Regions from separate parts of the Homo sapiens genome. Here region 2 is linked to region 1. Evidence: promoter capture Hi-C in human tissues and cell types (Jung and others, 2019). All regions are on one chromosome and are shown on one strand. Each heading gives the region's core, a stretch centred on a gene start or on the middle of the fragment in contact. The rest is flanking DNA. Distances are from core to core; before and after follow the strand shown.

The links. Contacts are between HindIII fragments. The study calls those that stand out against the background at their distance.
Region 2: a fragment that was not itself captured here is called in contact with the fragment with the promoter of TSPYL5 in region 1 in 1 of the 25 tissues and cell types used here (H1 embryonic stem cells).

Annotation. Positions count from the first base shown.
Region 1 is chr8:97,273,066-97,279,604 of GRCh38, forward strand. It overlaps TSPYL5 (TSPY like 5), which reads right to left and starts at 4,863. Exons shown (of 1, transcript NM_033512.3): 1 at 423-4,863. The coding sequence starts at 4,779. The coding sequence ends at 3,526. All of the region lies in intron 2 of LOC101927066 (a long non-coding RNA gene), which reads right to left. RefSeq lists an enhancer at 3,900-4,401. The HindIII fragment of the contact is 7,330 bases long and covers 859-6,539 here.
Region 2 is chr8:97,307,625-97,313,857 of GRCh38, forward strand. The region is part of intron 2 of LOC101927066 (a long non-coding RNA gene); the gene reads right to left. Among named protein-coding and RNA genes, the nearest start is that of TSPYL5, 33 kb to the left of the region's middle. The HindIII fragment of the contact is 3,593 bases long and covers 2,590-6,182 here.

The DNA.
Region 1 (6,539 bases), core at 3,613-6,112:
ACTGTCATCATCTGGAAACTCGTTAGAAATGCAGAATCTCAGGTTCCATCCCAAACTACTAAATCAGAATGCATATTTTAACACGATTCACCACACAATTCAGATGTACTCTAAAATTTAAGAAGCACTGTATTCCTACTAGAATCTAGATGATTCATAGAATCTAGATTATTCTAATGGGAGTTCACCGCTTCTGAATCAACTAGAAAGCATGTTAAAAACTAAGCTACCTGGCTTCCTCTCAGATTCATAGAATCTCAATCTTTGGGTAAAAGGCCTAGAAATCAAAATTTTATGTATTTTTGTGTAGCTAGTCAGGGTCTGCGGTTTGGGAATCACTTATCTAGGGCAATGTATATATTCTCTCAGCTGCCCAGCCTCTGTTTAAAAACCTTCCAATTCTTTTTTGAAAATCAGAAATATAACAGAGATACAGGTTTTTATTTTTCCATCATGCATGCAAACTTACAACTATTTATACTGTTTAAGAACACAGAAATAATTGCGTTATTAACAGGGTGTCAAATTACCAAGTAGAACAACCAGTTACTAATTATTTTGGGGAGGTTATTTTCACAGAACACAGCAACAATTTCCAAATTATTCTTCCAAAACCAGAGTTATGAGACCAGTACAAGCTGATAACAATGCTAATGGTCACACAAGTTTCCATGTTACACAGAAAAAAAGATTGACATTCTGGTGAAGGGTCTCAAGTACCTTACCATATCAGAATTTTTGAAAGAGTTTTACAACAGAACAGTCTCTCTCTTGTTTTGTAGATGCAAGGGAAAGGAAGCATCCCTCTCATTTCTTTTTGAGACTCCTTGTTAATTCTTAAAACACATTTCTAAGGCCCATCTCTGGAACTTCATTAGTTAACATTAAAAGCAAAAAGCAGACCTGATGTGATTATGATAGTGCACCCCATCACTATCACCATCAAAAGAGACTACCAATCTCCCAAAGTAGTCACGGTTGCATTGGCATAGTGTCTTGGATTTTCAATAAACAATACAGGTGAAAAGAGAGAGATACAGATGAAACCAGGTTGACCATAGCTGATAAGTGATGCAGCTAGGTGATGGACACATGGGGTCCAAGGACCATCCTCTCCACTTCTGTGCATGTCTGAAAATGTCCATAACACAGAGCAAAAAAAAAAAAATAATAACAAAAAACAAAAAAGCAGACTTGCACATCTGTATCTTCCCATTAGACTAAAATGGGGAAAGTCGTAAGACTTTAAAGGCAAAATGTGCAGCATATAGCATTCTTCTGCATGTACAAAGCCACACCTAGAACAAAAAAATAAAGCATCCAAAGTAACATTATTCCGTTTCTGGTTTGTCTCTGTGGCTTATAAAATCTACTAATGATAAGATTGGACAAAACTTTGGGAACATCCTCAACTAGGCATCCTATTTGTTCATAACCCCTTCAATTCTCATTTTCCAAGCTAGGGAGGTCCCTCCCATACTCTATCACTGAGAGACAGGCATGCTCCCCCTGCGGCTTCTCAAGCCATTTCTGTCTGATTTTGCAGGCCCACTCCATACCAGTATCATGCCTACTCGACGGTTTTGCTCCAAATCCCCCACCTAGCACACCCTTGCTACAGCTTTAAGCCAAGGACTCTCTTGAGGAACTTAGAATGAGGCCTCCCTAACAAAAGAGAAGGTAGGGAAGAACAGGTGTAGATACAGTCCTTCTTACCCACCCTCAGGGATAAGAGAGGGAAAGGCCCAGCTCTGCTTTTACACCCACTGGAAATAACCCGGAGATCCAAAACAGATTCTGCCCATCCCAATCCCCATCCCCCAGGAGAAGCTTGAGATGCTCCATATTGGAGACTAAAGCCCACTCCTGGGGCTATTTGAGGTAGAAGCAAAGAGAGCAAAGGACTGCTGAAAGTGGGAAAGCTGGGGATTGAGGTCCAGATGGCCAGAGGCTACCACAAAGGAGGAAACAGCAGGAGGCACTTGGGTCTTAGGAAGCATTAAAACAAAGTCAAAACAAGAGTAAACACTAGTCTATGACATGGCTGCCTTGGGGTTTATAACTCAAGCAGATGCTAGGCATGAAAAGGATTTTCAACTTCAGAACTGTAGAGCAAGCGCAGGAGACAGGTTCAGGGTTTGCCAGCAGATCCACTTGGCCTTCTGGTTTCCTCAACTCTCTTTCAACCTAGTATGTGTGCGCAGTGCCAAGTTCTCAGCTACCTCCCCAGCTGTATGTAGAAAAATGTGGTTTTTCAGTTGTTTTCTCTGTGGTACTATTTAAACAAAATAAAAAAGAATAAGGAAAGAAGGAAGGGGAAGGCAGAAGGGGAGGAAAGGAGGCTACCAGGAAAGGGAGGGAGGAAAGAAGAATGAGAGGGAGGAAATGAGGGATGAAGGCAGGCAAGCAAAATAAGAAGTATAAGTGACCTGAAGTCAAGCAAGCAGAGGCCCACAAATCAGAAATACCTCTTCCCAGAACCCCTACTATGGCACTCTGCTCACATCTTAGACGGGAATAAGGGAAGTTGACAATGGTATCTGGATTCTATATAGGCCCAGTCCTCACCCTCACCTGGAGCCACAGCATAATGACAGTGAACACATGTCCACACATACCAGCCCGCCCATCAGTCTGGCAGCCAGTAGGGTTCCTGGAAAGCTGGGGAGGGTAGGTGTGTGTCTCATGCACTGGTAGGGGGCCTCGGTCCACAGGCAGTTCTTGAGGTCCTTGTTGACCAGGAAGCCAACTGGGGCTGACAGCAACCCAGACAAAACTTAATGGCTTGATAGTGACACGGCATGGCGCAGATCTTGATGAAAGTTCACCAGTAGAAGGGCCCAGAAGCAAGAAGAGACACATGATGGTACAGAACACATGGCATACTGTTTCTTGCCCTTAACTTCATGCATGCCCAGCAGTCAAGTGCCATTCTGCAGAACATCAAGCAGGATGGGTATCACAGACCACAGGCCAAAGCCAGAAATAAAGCAGGTGACATCTCAGCTGGTGACCCCAGACCCACAGAACAGGAAGTTCTGGCTGATGACTAATACCATGTGCACTGGCTTCATTCTGCAGTGGCAATGGAAACGCTTGCATAGATGACATGCATGGCCAGCATGAACACGAAGCCCAGCAAGTCACTGGCCCTGAAGGAGCAGAGCTTGAGGATGCACTGGTCGTCCTGGAGGATGACTCATGAGTGTCCATGTTAAAGACAAGTAGGAAAGGCCAGAGCCAAGAACAAGGTCCAGGCAATGTAGATAACAGGGAGCACACATCTAAAGTATGTGTGCTTAACATATGAACAGTCCGGGTGCGATCACATAACATGTGACACTAACGTAGAAAAGCAAGAGGCTATGGGAGGCAAAAGAACATGATCATAAATGCCATATTCTTGTAACTAAAGTCCAAAGGGTCTATAGTACACAGAGGCCAACATGAAGAGAAGGCAGAGAGCCAAATATGTAGTCAACCAGGAGCAGCCCAGCAGGAGGTAGCAGGGAGACTTGTGCAGGATCAGTTGGATTGGCTCACCCCAGGCTGAGTAGTCTCCATTGGCTGCTTTCCTGGACCTTGCCTGCCTTCTTTTTCCTTTCCTTTCTCTACACGAGCCCCTTCACTCAAAAGGTAGAACTGCAAGGGATTGGGCCACAATTCTTCGTTGATTATCTCCACAATCTTGTCAGACTCAATGGAGCTGTGGTTTGAAAACCACCCAAAGAAACTACGGTTGTTTTCTGGGTTTCCCTGGCTTAGGGACTGGAGATCATGCCCTGGGAGCCACTGGATTGGAGTAGAACGAGACACCACCTGGCCAGAAGGACCACACCCATATTCCTTGATGAGCACCTTATTTTGGAAATACGGGTTGCGATCGAAGTAGAACTTGATTTTGTAGCCCAATCTGGCAAGGCCGAGCTCTTCCACTTCCAAGCTGTTTAAGTAGCTCAGTACCTCTTTCTCTTGGCTATTCAGAAAGGATGCTAGCTGGGGATGGTTCTGAAATGCTTGCCCCCAGAAGCCCGGGATATTTTGGATGAGGTGGTTCCTGCGCTCCAAGTGCTGCAGTCGCAACTGCCCAAACTTCCTGGAGAGCCGAAGGTAGGCCCTGTCCGCCTGGGCGTTCATGTTCTCCAGCTTCAGCTGCACGTTCTCCAGCGTATCCATGCTGCCTTCCGTCGCTGGGGGCCCCGACCCTGCATCCCTCTCTTCCTTCTTTTCCTCCCCAGCTGACACCGAGGTATTCTCCCCTGCCGCCCCTTTCTTCTGCCTCCCACCAGCTATGACCTGAGGCCCCCTCCCCGCGGTGCTACAGGTTTCTGGGGCCTTCTTCCCGGCAGGGCCACGCCGGTTTCCAACGCGGGGGGCATTTTTCGGCCTTCCCACGGTTCCCGCTGTTCCCACGAAGACAGTGTCTGCGGCCAGGCGCTCCGAGAGAGATGCGGCCTTCCCCGGGCCGGGCCTGGCCGCGGCCTGCCCGTGGTCCCCCGCAGCTCGGGCCCGCAGCGCGAGGCCACAGTCCAGGGGGAGCCGGCAGGCGGCCTCCTCCCCGAGCCGGAGGAGCTGCGCGGACGCAGCGGCTTCCAGGCCACCCCACCCCGCGCCAGCCTGCACCTGTGCCGCCTGGGTGTCTTCCCCGAGACTCTGGTACTGTGAAGGGTCCGGGTCGCGCGGGGCGTCGTCCGGAGCAGGGCGGACTCGGGCTTTGGCGCGGCCTTTGCCCCGGTTTTTGGCGCGGGAGGACTTTCGACCCCGACTTCGGCCGCTCATGGTGGCGGCGGAGGCAGCTTCAAAGACACGCTGTGACCCTGCGGCTCCTGACGCCAGCTCTCGGTCGGGACCGAGCGGGTCTCTCCACGGCAACCGCCGACGTCACGAACGTACAACTGTACCGTCGCGAGAGGACGTGATGCGCCCGGTGATTGGCGCCGCCGCTGCGGCTGCGCAGGAGACGACCCCCGCGGGCGCTCCCACCCCCATCTCGCGCGGACTCGCTTTAGGTCTCGGCGAGTTTCTCTGATATGCGCTCGCGGGGGTGCTGCCATTTCATCTCTTCCGCGCGGGCTCATCGTGCTCTCAGGGTCTCGTTGAACAAGGCAACGCTAAGAGCCATCACCACCTGTCCCCCATCACCTGTTTTCTAAACTAAACATCTTCAGCTCCTCCAGTTATCTCTTGTGGCATCTGTCATGAAGAAAGTGCTCGGGCGTGTGTGTCTCTCTTTGAACACCTTTGCTGAGGGATTTGCTCTGGTACCTTAACTCCAGAGAACGTAAAGGTGGATGCTATAATGCCGGGCGTCAAAGCGATTTGGTACGCAGTAAGATGATAGTAGAAATTATAAAAATAATGGCAACTAGTATTTTGTATCATTTGTGCCAGGCACTTTACTAGGTGCTTTAAATGCATTATCTCAATTTACAAAGGAGGTGTTGATATCATTCCCATTTTCGAGATAAGAAAACTGCATCTCAGAGACACCCGGGCACATTCCCCAGGTTACACAGTAAGGGATGGAAGCACAATTCAAACTCAAGCCCATGGGACTCCGTATCCTATGCCTTATATTTGGAAATGGCAAGTCCTTCCAGACTTGTTCCACTGTCAATTACTGGGCTGGCTCTTAAGAAATCAGCCTTGCTCCTTAACAAACAGGCTTCCGTGGACCACCTGACCACCTCTTCTGCCTGGGAACATCACCCGAGTCCCCCAGCTGCCTCAGTTTACAGATCTGGACTATCACTCTAGGTATAGGACCAGAAGTGAAGACCTGTATTAGAGCTCCTGTAATTGGAGTAAGACAAGAATGTGGTGAGAGGTGAAATTATTATTCAGGGAGCAGATTGAGGTTCAGAAGCAGAGCCTCCACGTGGCACTGCAGAAGCCCTAGAAACTTCTTACACTGTGCATGGAAACAGCCGGACAACCTCCCCCACAGTCCCGGAGGCAGCCCTGGACCACGCTCTTACTAGTGAGGTAATAGGACCATGAACAGTGAGGGGACCTGTGGCTAATGTAAAAATATAAAGAAAAACCTTTTGAGGTGGTCTTTTCAGGCTCAAAGGGAACAAAAAGGCCCTTGTAACCAGCTAGTGGAGAGATAAGCCCAAAAGCCCCGGGACCTCATTACTCAAAGTGTGGTTGTGGACCAGCAGCCTGATATCACCTGAAAGCTTGTTAAAGATGCAGAATCTCAGGCCTTTCCCCAGACCTACTAAGTCAGAATTTGAATTTTAACAAGATCCTGGGTGATTTGTATACACCCCTAAGTTTAAGGAAACAATTTAAAGAGGAATTATTTTTATACAGATGGCCCTATTTTAAGCCGGCCTAATACAAGTGATTCCTCATTTTCTCAAAAGCTCTAGAATAGCCTGCAAGGCCCTGTATGATCTGGCAAGTCTTCTATCTGCCACTACATGAGTTACCTCTCTGACCTCATCTTCTCTCTCCTCTCTCCCACCTCTAGCTACACTGGCTTCCTTGCTGTTCTTAAACTCACTAGGTAAACTCCTGCCTCAGAGCCTTTG
Region 2 (6,233 bases), core at 3,136-5,635, 34 kb after region 1:
CCAATCTAACACAGCCAGCTGCAACAACCCCTCCTCTGCCCTCACCCTCAAGGGAATCCCTAGTTCGGGACCCCACTGGGAGGCATGCTCTTGCAGCTATAGGAAGAGAGTTCATCATGAGAGCAACTGCAGAAATCACACACGGGAGACTGCACTGCTCTGCCAGGTGATCACAGAAATTTTAGACAGATTGAAGAGGGAAAGATCCAACTAAAATATTCAAAAGAATTACTGGGTGAGTTTCAAGGTAGAACCATTATTGTAAGTAAAGGTGAAGTATTACCTCTGATCTAAAAGAAGATGCCGAGAAATCCATGGAATTTGGACAAAGAAAGCCCCAGTGAAGATGAGACCTTCTGAAAGGAAGCAAAGCAGGAAGAAAATAGTTGCAGGCCTCAGGTTACATATTGGTCTGATGGGACTATACCTCCTAGGCTGGAGTATCCCATATATGGAAGTGAAGGTGGAAAACTTGTGTTTGAACAATGAATGCTGGGAAGATCCAGAAATCTTTGACTCCTTAGCTCTCAGCATGAAGAACCCCAGAGACAAAATCTAGAGGGGTATAAAAAAGACAAACACAATCCTAAAATTTCAAAGTTATGGTCAGGGAATGGTGGCTCAAGCCTATAATCCCAGCACTTTGGGAGGGCAAGGCAGGAGGATCACTTGAGCCTAGGAGTTTGAGACCAGCATGGGCAACATAGAGAGACCCTGTCTCTATGAGGCAAAAAAAAAATTAGCTGGGTGTGGTGGTGCATGCCTGTAGTCCCAGCTAACTGGGAGGCTGAGGTGACAGGATCGCTTGAGCCTGGGAGGTCAAGGCTATAATGAGCTGTGATTGCACCACTGCACTCCAGCCTGGGCTACAGAGCAAAACCCTGCCTAAAAAAATAAAATAACATAACATTTTAAAGCTTTAGTTTGCTTTACAGGAGAGAAATAAGACCCTGAATTAGGCTTGGTGACTAGGGCTGCCACTGCTGTGAATTTCTTTCTTTCTTTTTTTTTTTCCTTTGAGATGGAGTTTCGCTCTTATTGACCAGGCTGGAGTGCAGTGGCGTGATCTTGGCTCACCGAAACATCTTCCTCCTGGGTTCAAGCAATTCTCCTGCCTCAGCCTCTCGGGTAGCTGGGATTACAGACATGTGCCACCATGCCCAGCTAATTTTTGTATTTTTAATAGAGACAGGGTTTTTCCATGTTGGTCAGGCTGGTCTCTAACTCCCAACCTCAGGTGATCTGCCCACCTCGGTCTCCCAAAGTGCTGGGATTACAGGCGTGAGCCACCACACCCGGCTGTGAATTTCTAAATTTGGCAAGAAAGCAGGAACACATCAACATTCAGTCCCTAACGAAGAAAATGGTTTTCAGGTGTGGCTTCTACACTCGCCTCCAATATGGTTAACCAGTGCGATGTCACCTCTTTATGGAAGATGTCTCCCAGCTGAGTTTAAATTAAAAGGTTATAGGCTATGGACAAGTATCTTAGATAGAATGGTTGGCATTTTGATAAAGATGAAACTGAAAATTCCTCTTTCTCATTGCCTCTGCTACAGTCTCCATGGCATTAAATCTAGACTTATGGGGATATAGTTTGGCCAGATATACCTGCTCTAGAACATGGGTCCCCAACCCCCACGGTACTGGTCCATGGCCCGTGAGTAACCTGGTTGCACAGCAGAAAGTGAGTGGCATGAAGGTTGGGCGAGCATTACTGACTGAACTCCGCCTCCTGTCAGATCAGTGGTGGCATTAGATTGTCACAGAAGTGTAAACTCTATTGTGAACTGTGCATGTGAGGGATCTAAGTTGCACACTCCTTATGATAATCTAATGCCTGACCTAAGGTGAACAGTTTCACCTCAAAACCATCCCCCACCACCACTATCCATGGAAAAATTGTCTTCCATGAAACCAGTCCCTGGTGCCAAAAAAGGTTGGGGACTGCTGCTCTAGAAGATGATAATTTGCTTATGGTCCTCTAGGAGGTGGTAATTTGTTCCAGAAGAAAATAATTGATAATTTTGGGTATCCTATTAATTATTGGGACTTATTAAACTAAGAGACTTTGTGTTGAATTAATTCACTTCAAAGGCACCAAAGGAAACACACATCTTCCACTCAAAGGAACTGTACACTCAGGCCCTGAGAATCCTCCTGGTCCAGCCTGAGCCAAACATGCCTGAGAATGGTTCCGGCCATCAGACCAAAGATGTCCCAGTAAACTTACAAATCACATCCTTGATGCCTTTCTCACCCCAGCTGTCCTCCAGCATCTCCTTCTCCTGCTCCTGACTCCCATCTCCCCAACTGCCATGCCCCACTCCCTCCCTCTTGTTCCCTCTCTGACAATGAGCCTTCTAGAGCCATGCTGTCCACTGTGATAGCCACACATGGCTATTAAGCTCTTGAAATGCAGCTCTTCAAAATTCAAATGTGCTGTAAGATTAAAATACATGCTGGATTTTGAGGACTTGGTATGAAAAGAAATAAAATATCTCAGTAGTTTTTGTAGTAATTAGATGTTCAAATGATAATTTGGGGGGTTAAACATAACATACTAAAATTAATTTTATTTATTTCTTTTGCCATTTTTTTCTCTTTTATTAAGTTGGTGCAAAAATAATTGCAGTTTTTGCCATTGAAAGTAATGCCAAAGGCAGTAATAACTTTTGCACCAACATAATACCTTTTCTAAATTAAAAGATTTAAAATTACCTATGTGGTTCACATTTCCTTCCTTCCTTCCTTCCTTTCCTTTTTTTTTTTTTTTTTTTATTTTTTGGACACAGTTTTACTCTGTTGCCCAAGCTGGAGTGCAGTGGCACTATCTCAGCTCACTGCAACCTCCGCTTCCTGGGTTCAAGCGATGCTCATGCCTCACTCTCCTAAGTAGCTGGGATTACAGGCGTGTGCCACCATGCTGAGCTAATTTTTATATTTTTATTAGAGACAGGGTTTCGCCATGTTGGCCAGGCTGGTCTCGAACTCCTGACCTCAAGTGATCCACTCACCTCAGCCTCCAAGTGCTGGGATTACAAGCGTGAGCCTCCACGCCCAGACGGTTCACATTATATTTCTATTATAAGTCTGGTGCCCCAGGCCCCAGCCATCTCACTCCATCCTCCCCTACTCCTGGTCTGCTGAGGCACCCAAACCAACCTAACTTTCCTTCTTCTGTATGAGCATAAGATTTTGGTGTTCTTAGTTGGAGAATTATTTAATAAATGAACCATCACACCATGATCATAATGGTTGACTATGCTTACTTTTGTCTCTCCACTTGTACTTTTGAACACCTACCATGTTTATGGATTGTACTTGCTGTCAACGAGGCATACCAAGGAAGATAGGACAGCCCCTGCCATCCAGAAGCTAATAAGCTGGCAGGGTGTCCTCATTTAATTAGAGTAATCCGAAACACTGACATATCCTCCCATAAAGGAATGAATCAAACAGGAATTCTAGGCACCATGGAGGAATTAGGAAAACTATTTGTATTATGGGTTATAAAGAAAGTTTCATGGAGCCCTTCAATTCATACCACGTGTGTCTACATGCTTCCAGCCCACTGCATTGTCAAGCAGTTGCAGGCTTTTGGTTTTTCGAGGGTTTTTGTCCCTGACAAGAATTACGAGGTATCTCTTTCTCTGGTGCAGACAGAGAAGAAAAGTAAATGACTTGAGCCAAGTTAGAGAAATAAAACAAAATGTCAAAATATCTTCTATTCTGTCTCATCCATTTGAAGAGCCAGGTGTCTGGGAGCTGTGCCTTGATGGGTTCACCCTACAACATTTTCTTCCCATTTCTGCTCAAAGCAAAACCAATTAAACAAGAGCCCCACTCAGAGAGGAAATAAGTTCTGAGAGAATGGTTATTTTGTCTCTTTTCTCTTTTCATTGAGGAAGGTAATGGCGCCAGTTCAAGAAGCCAAGGATAATTTTGTTCATAAATTGTATACTTTGACCTCATGGTTTTTAGCACAAATTAAAGATGGGATCCAGTTTCAGTTCTCTTTCTTTTGAATTGGATTATTTTAAAAGAGGGATGTTTTCCCTGAAGTATTTAGTATTTGCAACCCAAACATTTTCTGCTCATGGCTGTCTACAGGGCTGCCTTTTAGATATAAATGTTCCTAATAGATCACAGTTTGAGGCTTAAAATGTCCATGTTTATCCCAACATGTTTATTTCCTTTCTCCTTCTGCAGACACTGTAGTCAATTTCTTTTCCAACCCTTTTTATCTCAAAGAAAACAAGCTTTATCATTTGGAAGTGTATCTCATGCCATAAAACCAGGTCAATATTAAGAGAAGAGTGTAATCACATAGATCAGTATCAGACACCAAATGCAGGATTTAGAGTGGAGAAAGATGAGATTGTAATGACCACAGTAATTAATTGCAAAGAATGGAGAAAATAGAGCCCAAGCTTAACTGTGGAGATCTTATTTATTGGGACCTCAGTCCCTGTGCCCTGGGACTGAGATCCCTCCAGGCAGGAGAAAAAAAACACTCTACTCTGTCTACCTTCAGCTGCCATAGTTAAGTCTGAGTGCCAGGTTCTGGTTATAATCAATCACTGACTTATTTACCATGCTGTACAGACATTCCGGCCCTGAATGCACCCACAGTTTACAAGGTTCATGATTTTCTTTGTGCCTATATGCCTCCCTCCCCTCACACCAGCACCATGCTTATCTCTTTCCTTGCTCATCCATGCCTGCCAACCTATATGTCCTCTCTTCTCCCTACTCAAGAAGAACCTCCTCTGAAACACCTTCTCCTTTTTACTTTCTCCTCCCTTTTGCCTCTAAAGTTTGTGTATTTCCAGAGGCAGGCTTCTCATCTCAGTCTCTAGTATGTACCCAATCGCAAGAGTTCAACAGCATCCCTGGACCCTTCGTCTCTCCTGATGAGGCCCCTTTGCAGCACTTGGTTTCAATCCTACTTATCTAACTCTTCCTGGAAACCCTCAATTTGTCCCTCAGGATTCCTAAACAATATGTTCAAGTTGAGTTTATCATCCCCTTGTCTCCCGACCCATCATATGCTTACCAGCAGTGTCTCCCACTTCAAACCACCTCAACCTGCCCTTCCTTGTTAATTTTCTGTCTCAGTGAGAGAACTTCTGTCCCCCTAGATACCCAACCAGAAATTCTAGAGTTGGCTCTTCCACCTCCCTATGTCTTCCCTGTGATATTCAATAGGACTTCAAGTACTGTGCATTCTGCCTCCTGAACATCTCCCAAACCTGCGTCCTCTGCATCCCCTTCACCACCACCCTTGTCTTTTCATATTGGGATTCTCCTACCTATGCTCTCTGTTTTCATCCCAGACCCCCTGATCTGTCCTCTCTATGGCCACCAGAGTCATCTCTAAAAAGTGCAAATCCAGGAGAAGCCTTTGATGACTCCAGATTATTTTAGGATAAACTCTAAGCTTCTTCTAAGCACACAAGGTCCTGCATTTCTCTCAAACCCCACCTCTTGCTATAACCACAATGAAGTACTTGTGGTTCCCAAAGGTGCTCCTCTCTCTAGGCTCAGTGCCTTTATACCTGTCTTCCAGGAAGGTCCCTTATCCATATCTTTGTCTGGCTAAGTCTTACGTACTCTTCAAGCCTCAGCTCAGAACTTCCTTCAGGGAGACTTCTGTATCAGTTTGGATGTTTTCAGCTCAACTAACAAAATATCCAACTAGATATTTAATAGTATAATAAAGAGGTTTATCTCCCCAGTAAGATGTCTGCAGCAGCAGTTTCACAGCTGGTTAATTTAGCAGCTGGAGGATGTCTGAACTCTGGGCTGCCTTTTTTTTGTCTTGGCTTTCCCGGTACGGACTCAAAATACATGCCTTAACTCTAAACATCAGATCCACACAAAGCCATAGTCAAAACAAGAAAAGAAGTGAGGAATTCCCCTTAGACACCTCTCCTTTTTATCAGAGAGAAAAACTTTCCCAGCAGACTTTGCATCTGGTTCCCTTAAGATCTGGGTCTCCCGTTTACTGTATTCAGACGACTGACAAAGGGAGAAGAGTTGTTGTGGCTTATCTGTGACTGCGGGAAGAAAGGTATCTTCTTTGAGTACACTCTGCCTCATATAGAATAAAATTAGTGTTCTCTTGGCAAAGACAGAGGCAGAGACAGTGACTGGGGGAGGCTACCAACAGTTTTGGCCATGGCTTCTTCACCCAGAGTCCCTTGCTCATGGCTCTCTTACCAGAGTGA